3 separate regions of the Homo sapiens genome follow, and all the other regions are linked to region 1. Evidence: promoter capture Hi-C in 16 types of primary human blood cells and fetal thymus (Javierre and others, 2016). All regions are on one chromosome and are shown on one strand. The core of a region is centred on a gene start or on the middle of the fragment in contact, and the rest is flanking DNA. Distances in the headings are between cores, read along the strand shown.

Evidence for each region. Contacts are between HindIII fragments. The CHiCAGO score rates a contact against its expected background, and 5 or more counts as called.
Region 2: a fragment that was not itself captured here is called in contact with the fragment with the promoter of CYS1 in region 1 in 17 of 17 cell types (naive B cells, naive CD8 T cells, total B cells and 14 more); the score reaches 21.0 in naive B cells.
Region 3: a contact is called between a fragment that was not itself captured here and the fragment with the promoter of CYS1 in region 1, in 1 of 17 cell types (total CD4 T cells). The highest score is 5.5, in total CD4 T cells.

Annotation. Positions count from the first base shown.
Region 1 is chr2:10,078,834-10,082,102 of GRCh38, forward strand. It overlaps CYS1 (cystin 1), which reads right to left and starts at 1,578. Exons shown (of 3, transcript NM_001037160.3): 1 at 1,073-1,578. The coding sequence starts at 1,390. RefSeq lists silencers at 713-1,052, 1,123-1,362, 1,423-1,482, 1,653-1,892. The HindIII fragment of the contact is 11,698 bases long and covers 1-3,269 here.
Region 2 is chr2:10,662,420-10,665,688 of GRCh38, forward strand. NOL10 (nucleolar protein 10) reads right to left here. Exons shown (of 21, transcript NM_024894.4): 9 at 540-625. Among named protein-coding and RNA genes, the nearest start is that of NOL10, 26 kb to the right of the region's middle. The HindIII fragment of the contact is 3,499 bases long and covers 1-3,269 here.
Region 3 is chr2:10,614,501-10,617,769 of GRCh38, forward strand. The region is part of intron 13 of NOL10 (nucleolar protein 10); the gene reads right to left. Among named protein-coding and RNA genes, the nearest start is that of NOL10, 74 kb to the right of the region's middle. The HindIII fragment of the contact is 5,417 bases long and covers 1-3,269 here.

The DNA of each region.
Region 1 (3,269 bases), core at 328-2,827:
GATGAATAATATCAGCAAATCAGAGGGCACAACATTCACTCTTGCTATTTGCCTCTCATTTTCACCTCCGAGTTTCCAAAGCACTTGAAAATGAACACTAAAATTAACTGCCTCCTTGCTATGTGTGAATTCCTCCCAAATTTCTCAGCTATTTGTCCAGGCAGTGTTATATAACTGCAGGCTGATGTGGTATTAAAGGAATCTTGTTATATAATTCAGCCCTACTCACTGCAGCTCGCTTTTCCTCTTTAAAGACCGTAAGGGAGAGGAGCAGGGAACCAGGGCCAGAGGGAGAGAGCTCTGTGCACTGTCGCCTGGGGCTGTCCCTCTCCCCCACCCTCCCTGGGGCCTTTTCAGGATTCCTTGGTGCGGTAGCCACCCAGGAAGGCATCTTCCTCGGCTCCCAGCGGCTGCTAAGCAAAGCCTCCCGGGCCTCAGGGAGGAGGACGAGGCCCTTGGCATCCTCCCCGAGCCCGGGAGCGGATGTTAAAGATCTTGTTCATTCAGCTCTGCTGGAGCGAAGACGGTTGCCAAACCAGAGTGCTTGTTTTATTGTTTTTTTAGAACAGCAGGACTGTTATTACGAGTATTCAGGGAGAGAGAATAGGAAGCGCAAAAGAGATTCCGCAGCATCCTAAAAATATCAGTAACATGAGAATTGCCTGCCCAGCAAGGCAAGGATCTGGACCGGTGGGCGCGGCAGGGCGCTTCTGAGCCACCGTCTGGCTGCCGTGCCACCACCGCCGGCGCCCCGCTCCAGGGCGGCCCGGGAAGGCCAGGCGGGGCCGCGGGCCCGAGGGGAGCCGGGAGCCCGGCGCGCTCCGCCTAGGGGTGTCCTTCCTCGGCCGCTCCCAGCGCGATCGCCCCCACGCCTGGACACAGACCCGGAGACGGGGCAGAGAGGGAGGAAACCTGGGGGCCCAGGGGCGGGGAGGCCGGGGCAGCGGGGAGCACGCAAGTCGGAGGCTGGAAGGGGGCGCAGCGCGACCGGCGCCCAGGGCTGGGGCGGGGACGCGCGGCCGGTGAGTGGGGTCCCCGCCGTCCCCCGAGGCCCTGCGGCTCCCACACTCACCGCGCTCCCCGCGACCGCGGTGGGTCGGAGCCGGGCTGGGCGGCGCGGGGCGGGCTCCGGGGGGCCCCAGGCCGCCGACTCGGCCAGCAGCTCGTCCAGCAGGCGCAGCGTCTCGTCCCTGCCGTCGGGGGGCGCCACGGGGCTGGGGTCGCGGCCGGGCGCCTCCTCCGCGGCTGCCCCCGGGACCTCGGCCGCCGCCACCGGCACCCGCCGGCGGGTCCCGCCCTCCAGGGCTGCCGCTCCGGGCCCCGCGGGGAGGCTCTCGGGGCTGCGCCGCCGCCTCAGAGTCCGGCTGCTCCGGCTGCTGCCGCTGCCCATGGCGCGCCCGCCGCCTCCCGGACCGCCGAGGGGGCCCCCATGAGGGGGCGCGGCCGGGGGCGGGGACGCTAGGGGGTGCGGCCGGGGCGGGCTGCAGGGGGAGGCGCGGGGCGAGGTCCGGGAAGCGACCGCGGCCAGGGGCTAGGGTTCCCGGGCGGGGGTCGCGGCCGGAGGACGGGGGTGCGAGCCGGAGCCTGGGGAGGGGCGGGCGAGGCAGGGCTGCATAGGCGTCCCGAGGGGGCGCACACCGGCCCTAGGGAGGGGCGGGCCCGAGACCCCGGCGAGGAGCACCGGGTGCGGGCGCGGCCTCCCCTCCCGGGTCTCCCCCTACAGTCCCCCCACTCCCGCCCACGGGTCCCCTCGCTCCCCGCCGTCGGGTCAGCCCTGTCCCGGCCTTCTGGAATTGCTGAACCCTGCGGGGGGCCCGGCTGAGTTTGTTCATTTATGGAAACGCTCCCCAGACGACGCTCGCCGGGCCCGTGGGAGGCCGCGGGAGCTTGGGGGGACTTCCCAAAGCCTGAGCCCCCTAGCGATGCGCGGGGTGGGCGGGGGAAAGACCCTGAGGGCTGCGCGCGCTGCGTTCGCGAGGTCCGGCCGTCAGTGCGCCCCGACCTTTCAGTGTCCGCCAGGCCTGAGACGCCCCGGGAGGGAAGGGGCGATCCTCCGGGCACCAACAGCCCCCTCCGGCCTTCTCCTTCCCTCTGTTGCCCCAGCGGAGACTGGATGTGTGAAGGTTGAGCCTCATCAAAACCTCCAAATAGTCACTACTTTTGGGAAAGAAAAACTTTGAAAATGAAGGAGAAAGGCAAAGCAACCCCCACCTCGCCCTCCCCCCGCCACAGGAAAGAAGCAAAAGGAAATACCTAGGTGGTGGTCATAAGTCTAGCTTTTGGTCTCGGATTTTTTTTTTTTTTCCCTTAACCGCTTTTCTTTTTAAGTGAACTAACCACAACCCAGACTAGAAAACACTCCAAAGCTGCCGAATTCAAACCCAGCGAGCCTTCCTGTTGGTTGGTTCTGTGTTTTACTTAAATGTGATTACTTCCTTCCCTTGCCCACCTCCTGCAACTTTAAATTCCAGCCTTTCCAAGACAGGGCAATTCAAAAGTCCTGGGTTTAACTCACCTATCTTGACTTGACATTAACTTTTATCCTGATTGATTGGATTCCAGAATAATTGTGAAAATGGAATTTCGGCTAAACTTTCCCAACCACAGACTTGAAATTCTACTATTTTATCACTTCAGGAGTAGACATTAAAAAACATATGCCTAAGAAAATGGAATAAAAATGGGACTCAGATTCACATCCATTTATTTTTATTATTAAGAGAGAACAAGAGGCCGGGCGCGGTGGCTCACGCCCGTAATCCCAGCACTTTGGGAAGCCGAGGCAGGTGGATCACGAGGTCAAGAGACCGAGACCATCCTGGCTAACACGGTGAAACACCGTCTCTACTAAAAATACAAAAAATTAGCCGGGCGTGGTGGCGGGCGCCTGTAGTCCCAGCTACTCAGGAGACTGAGGCAGGAGAATGGCGTGAACCCGGGAGGTGGAGGTTGCAGTGAGCCGAGATCGCGCCACTGCACTCCAGCCTGGGCGACAGAGTGAGGCTCGTCTCAAAAAAAAAAAAAAAAAAAAGAACAAGAAAGTATTTATAATCTAGCTGGACGTGGTGGCTCATGCCTGTAATCCCAACACTTTCAGAGGTTGAGGCGAGCAGATCACTTTAGGTGAGGAGTTTGAGACCAGCCTGGCCAACATGGTGAAACTGTCTCTACTAAAAATACAAAAATTAGCTGGGCATGCTCACTTGAACCCAGGAGGTGGAGGTTGCAGTGAGCCGAGATCACGCCACTGCACTCCAGCCTGGGCAACA
Region 2 (3,269 bases), core at 358-2,857, 580 kb after region 1:
AGGGCAATTTAGCAATGTACCAAAAACCTTCAAAACATGTATGCTATTTAATCCAGAAATTCAGGTTCTAGGTATCATTTCTCAGGAAATAATCATAAAACTGTAAATGGATGTATAATAGTGAAAACTCTTCTGATTGGTTTAAATGTAGAAATTAGGCAAACAGGAACAAGAAAATATTAAAAAAACACTTGCTTCCTTCCACCTTAGAATTCAAAGCACACCTCTGTGGACTTTGTGGTGGACTCCTGGTTCTATCACTAGATTCTACAAAATTGGAATACAAATTCCTGTAGTGTAATTGTTTTAATAAAATCGTACAGCAACTAAAGAAATAAGGCCTTCTGTATAGTATTTTGGAAAGAAATTCTATCTGGCTTACTCACTAGTGAGCTTTTACAGGAGAGGATCTTTATGAAAAACAATCATGGAAAGTACAATTTCAGATATCCTGTAGCAATTTATTTGAATTTAATATAGACACATTACTTAAATTAAAAGTTGATGAACATTTACATTGCAAATTAATTTCTACTTACTCTGAATCTGCTGTGACACTGTTTAAGGCGCAGTCTAACAGGCCAACTCTGTTTCGAGTTCTTGGGTCCCAGCACTCCACTCTACCCTATGCAAATGAAAAACAATTTTAAATAAAAGCTGTAGAAGGCGGGGCATGGTGGCTCATGCCTGTAATCCCAGCACTTTGGGAGGCCGAGGCGGGCTGATCACCTGAAGCCAGGAGTTTGAGACTAGTCTGACTAACATGGCGAAACTCTGTTTCTACTAAAAATACAAAAAATTAGCTGGGTATGTGGTGCACGCCTGTAATCCCAGCTACTTGGGAGGCTAAGGCAGAAGAACTGCTTGAACCCGGGAGGTGGAGGTTGCAGTGAGCCGAGATTATGCCACTGCACACCAGTCTGAGCGACAGAGCAAGACTTCGTCTCAAAAAAAAAAAAAAAGCTGCTAAGAAATCCTTAAAACACATACAAAAATAAACCACATTAACATTGTTTATTTCATAGAAAAAGTCCTTATTTTTAAGAAATCCATTTTAAAGTATTTAGGGAAGAAATATCATAATGCCTGCAACTTATTTTCAAAAGGTTCAAAAAACATTTTTAATACATGTACATTTTTATGGGAAAAGAAAATGCAAAATATATATATCACTAAACTTTTACAAAGATGTGAACTTTTTAAAAATAAAAAGCTGGGGAAAATTTTTTTTAATGAAAAGAAGAATCCCGGCCAGGCGCGGTGGCCACGCCTGTAATCCCAGCACTTTGGGAGGCCAAGATGGGGAGATCACGAGGTCAGGAGATCGAGACCATCCTGGCTAACACAGTGAAACCCAGTCTCTACTAAAAAATACAAAAAATTAGCCGGGCATGGTGGCGGGCGCTTTTAGTCCCAGCTACTTGGGAGGCTGAGGCAGGAGAATGGCATGAACCCGGGAGGCTGGAGCTTGCAGTGAGCCGAGATCGCACCACTGCACTCCAGCCTGGGCGACAGAGCGAGACTCCGTCTCCAAAAAAAAAAAAAATACAAAATTAGCCAGGCATAGTGGCGCATGCCCGTAATCCCACACACTAGGAGGCTGAGGCAGGAGAATTGCTTGAACCCGGGAGGCAGAGGCTACAGCGAGCTGAGCGTGCCACTGCACTCCTGCCTAGGCAACAGAGAGAGACTCCGTCTAAAAAAAAAAAAAACCCAAAAAAACAGAACAGGCCGGGCATGGTGGCTTATGCCTGTAATCCCAGCACTTTTGAAGGCCGAGGTAGGTGGATCACCTGAGGTCAGGAGTTCGAGACCAGCCTGGCCAATGGTGAAACCCCGTCTCTACTAAAAATACAAAATTAGCTGGGCATGGTGGCAGGTGCTTGTAATCCCAGCTATTCGGGAGCCTGAGGCAAGAGAATCGCTTGAACCTGGGAGGCAGACATTGCGGTGAGCCGAGTCCAGCCTGGGAAACAAAGCAAGACTGTCTCAAAAAAAAACAGAATGGAGAAACTGTAGTACGTCCATTTAAACTGAGTATTAGCCATTACAAAGAATGATGTGAATATACATGTACTAGAATTGTGTCCACAAAAAAGCAATTTACTTTTTTAAATGAGGGGTCGTTGTTTGTGTGTTTGAGACAAGGTCTTGTTCAGTCGCCCAGCTGGAGTGCAGGGCACAATCACAGCGTATTGCAGCCTCCACCTTGTAGGCTCAATCCATCCTCTCACCTCAGCTTCCCCAGTAGCTGCATCTATGGTATGCACCACGCCTGTCTAATTTTTGGATTTTTGGTAGAGAAGAGGTGTCGCCATGTTGCCCAGGCTGGTCTCGAACTCCTGGACTCAAGCGTTCCACCCACTCGCACTTCCAAAGAGCTGGGATGACGGACGTGAGCCACCACACCCAGCCAACATTTGTGTTTTTAAAAAAATGCTTGTGCAAACAGAAAAACCTGAGAGGATACACAGCAAATTATTAACAGTATTTACCTAAGGAAACAGGAATAGGACAGGGTGGAAGGGAATTACACTTTTCACTTTGTGTTCTTGTCTATCATTTGATTTTGTAATGATAAAACAAAAACATAAACAAAGATGTTTTAAGATTGTTTAATATATTAACTACCTTAAAAGCAAACCCTTCAATATACTTAGGAGGTTCTGACCTCATTAATCTTTTAATATTATTACAAGTAGGTATGTTGCAAAGATGAATAATCGAAGGGAAACCTTTTTAAACTACAGCAGGTAATTCCAAATGGTCTAGTCTTCTATGTCTTCTCAAAATGAGTTAATAAATTTTATGGACATAAAAAAGAAAAGTTGCATTCCAAAAACACAAAATGGGTATGCAGATAACTTCCAGTGTAAATACAAAATGTATTTTTAAGCACACTGATTTTCTATTACCTAAATTTGAATATTTCCATTGCCAAACCTCCCCTCTTAGGCACTTCAAAAAGCACAAAATGCAAACATTTAGTTTGACAATATTATGATAACTAAGAACTAAAGAAGAAACTAAAATCTGAGATGTAATATGAAAATCAATGTAAAATGAATTTGTTAAGCCTGATCTGACTATGCTTATGAAACTGCAAGCTGCTAATAATCAAGGAATTTCCGGAAGCCCAGTCTTTGAGCATCCCTACCTCCTATCCCTTCAACATGTCCTAGGCTGGTCTTAAACCAGCTGCTGGAAGAGCAGCACGTTCTAATACATAACTTCTCTTAGCACATTGCCTGGTGTCTAGCCTAGACTGC
Region 3 (3,269 bases), core at 495-2,994, 540 kb after region 1:
CTTCAGTAAGGTCTGGGTCAGTAGCCCATGATCAAATCATATTAACATCTCTGCAGCAAAACCTACACAAATTCATACCAGTGATTTGGGATAAACACAGACCTACAAAGAAATTCATTATTTCACATAGGTTGAAGTCCTAATAAATCAGGTCCAGTCAGGGTTTACCACAGGGTTATAAACAAACTTTCAAGGCTTTTTAAATTTCAGAATTGCAGATAAGAGATGATGGAGTTGTACTATAATGTATATACACACTATACATAGCTACATATGGTAAATATATACTAAATATAGATATACTATAAATATCACTGACCACTATTATGATTAATGATAATTTTTCTAATTACCTAGCCTGCATCTCCTGTGGGAAAATGGGATTTTGCCAATTAAGAAAACCAACTCTGCATATAAACTCAAAAGAAAATTTTCTTTTCCAGCTTTTCTTCCATTATTGTTGGAAAGGCCTCACTAGGAGCAGCAGCATGTATTTTCAAATTCTGACAGCTGAGGCTTAATAAATGATCATAAACCCAAGAGAACACTGGGTGAGCCAGAGGGAGTGGCCATGACCTTAAGCATGTAATTGCATTTGCAGCATAATGAGCTGCCTAATTGCATATCCAAGTTTACATGCATTTGTGTGAGTAATTATGAGTCATTTAAATGTACTCTACTTGTAGTGTTTTGTTCTTAAAAATCAGATTAGCAAAGAAGCAATTTAATTTCAACATTTTAAAAGATTTATTTTTAAAAAAGAAAAACTATTACCTGCCATGACTTAATATTTGAAAAGATAATTTAGGGACTGAAATGAAATAACAAGAAAAATAAGGCCAAGTTAAAAAAAAATTGTTAAGATTCCTTAAGCCACTATCTCACTAATAGCCCATCAAGCAATAGTCAATTTTTGTGACACTATGAGTAGAGATACACATGACAGAGTGCCTTCAGTCAAGGGCTAGCAGAGACAGGACGCCCCAAGCAAACATTTAAACACCAAATTAAAACTGATGTTAAGAAACACAGAGAGCTTTTGGTTAATAGTGGTACCCCCATCGCTGTCAAGCCTTTTTAAAATGACAGTAAATAACTTTTAAAAGGTATTAACCTTTAAGGACAAAAAGAACTGAAGAAGAAGATGCAGTAATTTAAGAAACTTAACCGGGTAAACATGAGAGCTTACAGAGGTGAACAGCAAAGAGAAAAGATTCCTCTCTCAGAATCCTTGGGACAAGAACTTCAAGGCTCTAAGCATGGGGGACGACAGGATGAGGCACAGGCCCGAATAAAGGGGGAACAATGGAGCTGATGAACACCCAAATCCCCACCATGCCTAAAGAGACCAGAAGATAATTCTCTGGAGGAGGGGAACCAAAGCTGCCCTATGTGCGGGGTGGGTGGGGAGTATGCCACCAGGCACAGGTGACTTGAGCTGTGGGGCTAAAGTCAGGACAATTAATGGCAGTCTAGACATCAAACTGTGGGACCCTCGCCTCCTTTTCCCAGCCCCTGGAATGCCAAAGTCAAGCCTATGCTGCTGTGCGTCCACTCTACCAGCCCAAACCCCTAACACCTCAGAACAAAACTGGGGGATTCTTCTCTGGAGTAAATGAAAGGTCCCAGAAGACAGACTTTAAGATATTGATATCTGGGTAGAGTCATTAGCTGAAGGGTCCACATGAAAACTACCAGTGGACAACACCACCCTGCATTTTTTTTTTTTTTTTTTTTTTTTTTTTTGAGGCAGAGTCTTGCTCTGTCACCCAGGTTGGAGTGCAGTGGTGCGATCTCGGCTCACTGCAACCTCTGCCTCCTGGATTCTTGTGCCTCAGCCTGCCAAGTAGCTGGGATTACAGGCGTGTGCCACTACGCCTGGCTAATTTTTGTATTTTTAGTAGAGACGGGGTTTCACCATGTTGGCCAGGCTATTCTCAAATTCCTGGCCTCAGGTGATCCGCCCGCCTTGGCCTCCCAAAGTGCTGGGAGTACAGGCATGAGCCACCGTGTCTGGCCCCAGTTGGCATTTTAGCACCTCATTCTTCATTTTTTTTTGTTTTTTTGAAACAGGGTCTCACTTTATCACCCAGACTAGAGTGCAGTGGTGCGATCTCAGCTCACCGCCACCTCAACCTCCCAGGTTCAAGCAATCCTCCCACCTCAGCCCTTCAAGTAGCTGGGACTACAGGTGTGTGCCACCATGCCCAGCTAATTTTTGTATCTTTTGTAGAGATGTAGTTTCGCCATGTTGCCCAGGCTGGTCTTGAACTCCTGAGCTATAGTGATCCACTGGCCTCGGCCTCCCAAAGTGCTGGGATTACAGGAGTGAGACACCACGTCTGGCCCTCATTCTTAAATAAGAACAGGTTGCCTAAGCTCCCTCCCCATTCACTTATTCAACAAAGAGTTACCTCCCCATTCACTTATTCAACAAAGAGTTACCTCCCCATTCACTTATTCAACAAAGAGGCAGGCACTTTCCCTTCTCTCTAGATACTCAGTGACAAAACACAGAACAATCCCCACCCTCAAGGAGCTTACCTTCCAGAAAGGGGAAACTACAAACAAGGGAGAGGCAGTGGAGAGTATGACAGACAGAGACTGGTGCTGTGGAAACTGAAGGAGAGAAGGCAATGAAGAATAGAGGGGAAGGGGAGATGATGGACAGGGACCCAAGGGGCAGGAGGGAGTGACCCTCAAGACTACCTGACAACTACAAAGGCCTAGAGGTTGGAATTGCTTGGCATGTTTGTGGATCAGTAAAAAGACCAGCCCAGTGTGGCTTGAATAGAGAGAGCAATGGTGAGCAGGGGCATTCATGAGGATCACTCTGGCAGAGGCTGGGCGACTGACTGGTTCCGGGCATTGAAGGAAATCTCTGTTTATTCATTAGCTGACAGTTCGGCAACGAGCAGAGACTTCAGTGGTCACACGTTAGAAAGAAATCAGATTTTATAGAATTAGTCCAGGACAGTCACTAAACAAACAACCACAAACCCTGGGGACCTGGGGGAGGGACTGAGTTCCATAATTCCTAAATTATGTTACTTAAAGCATCCAGCTTCCAACAAAAAAATTACAGGACACACAAAGAAACAAGAAAAGCAGGGTCCATATGAAGGGAGGGGGAAAGTTGCCAGAGAACTCATCTTTAAGAGACTAGCTACTTCACTAAGTCCAAACACTGGACTTAGTAAAAACTGGATAATGACATTCATCCACTGATGAATGGGTGAACAAATGTGATAATATCCACACAATGGAAT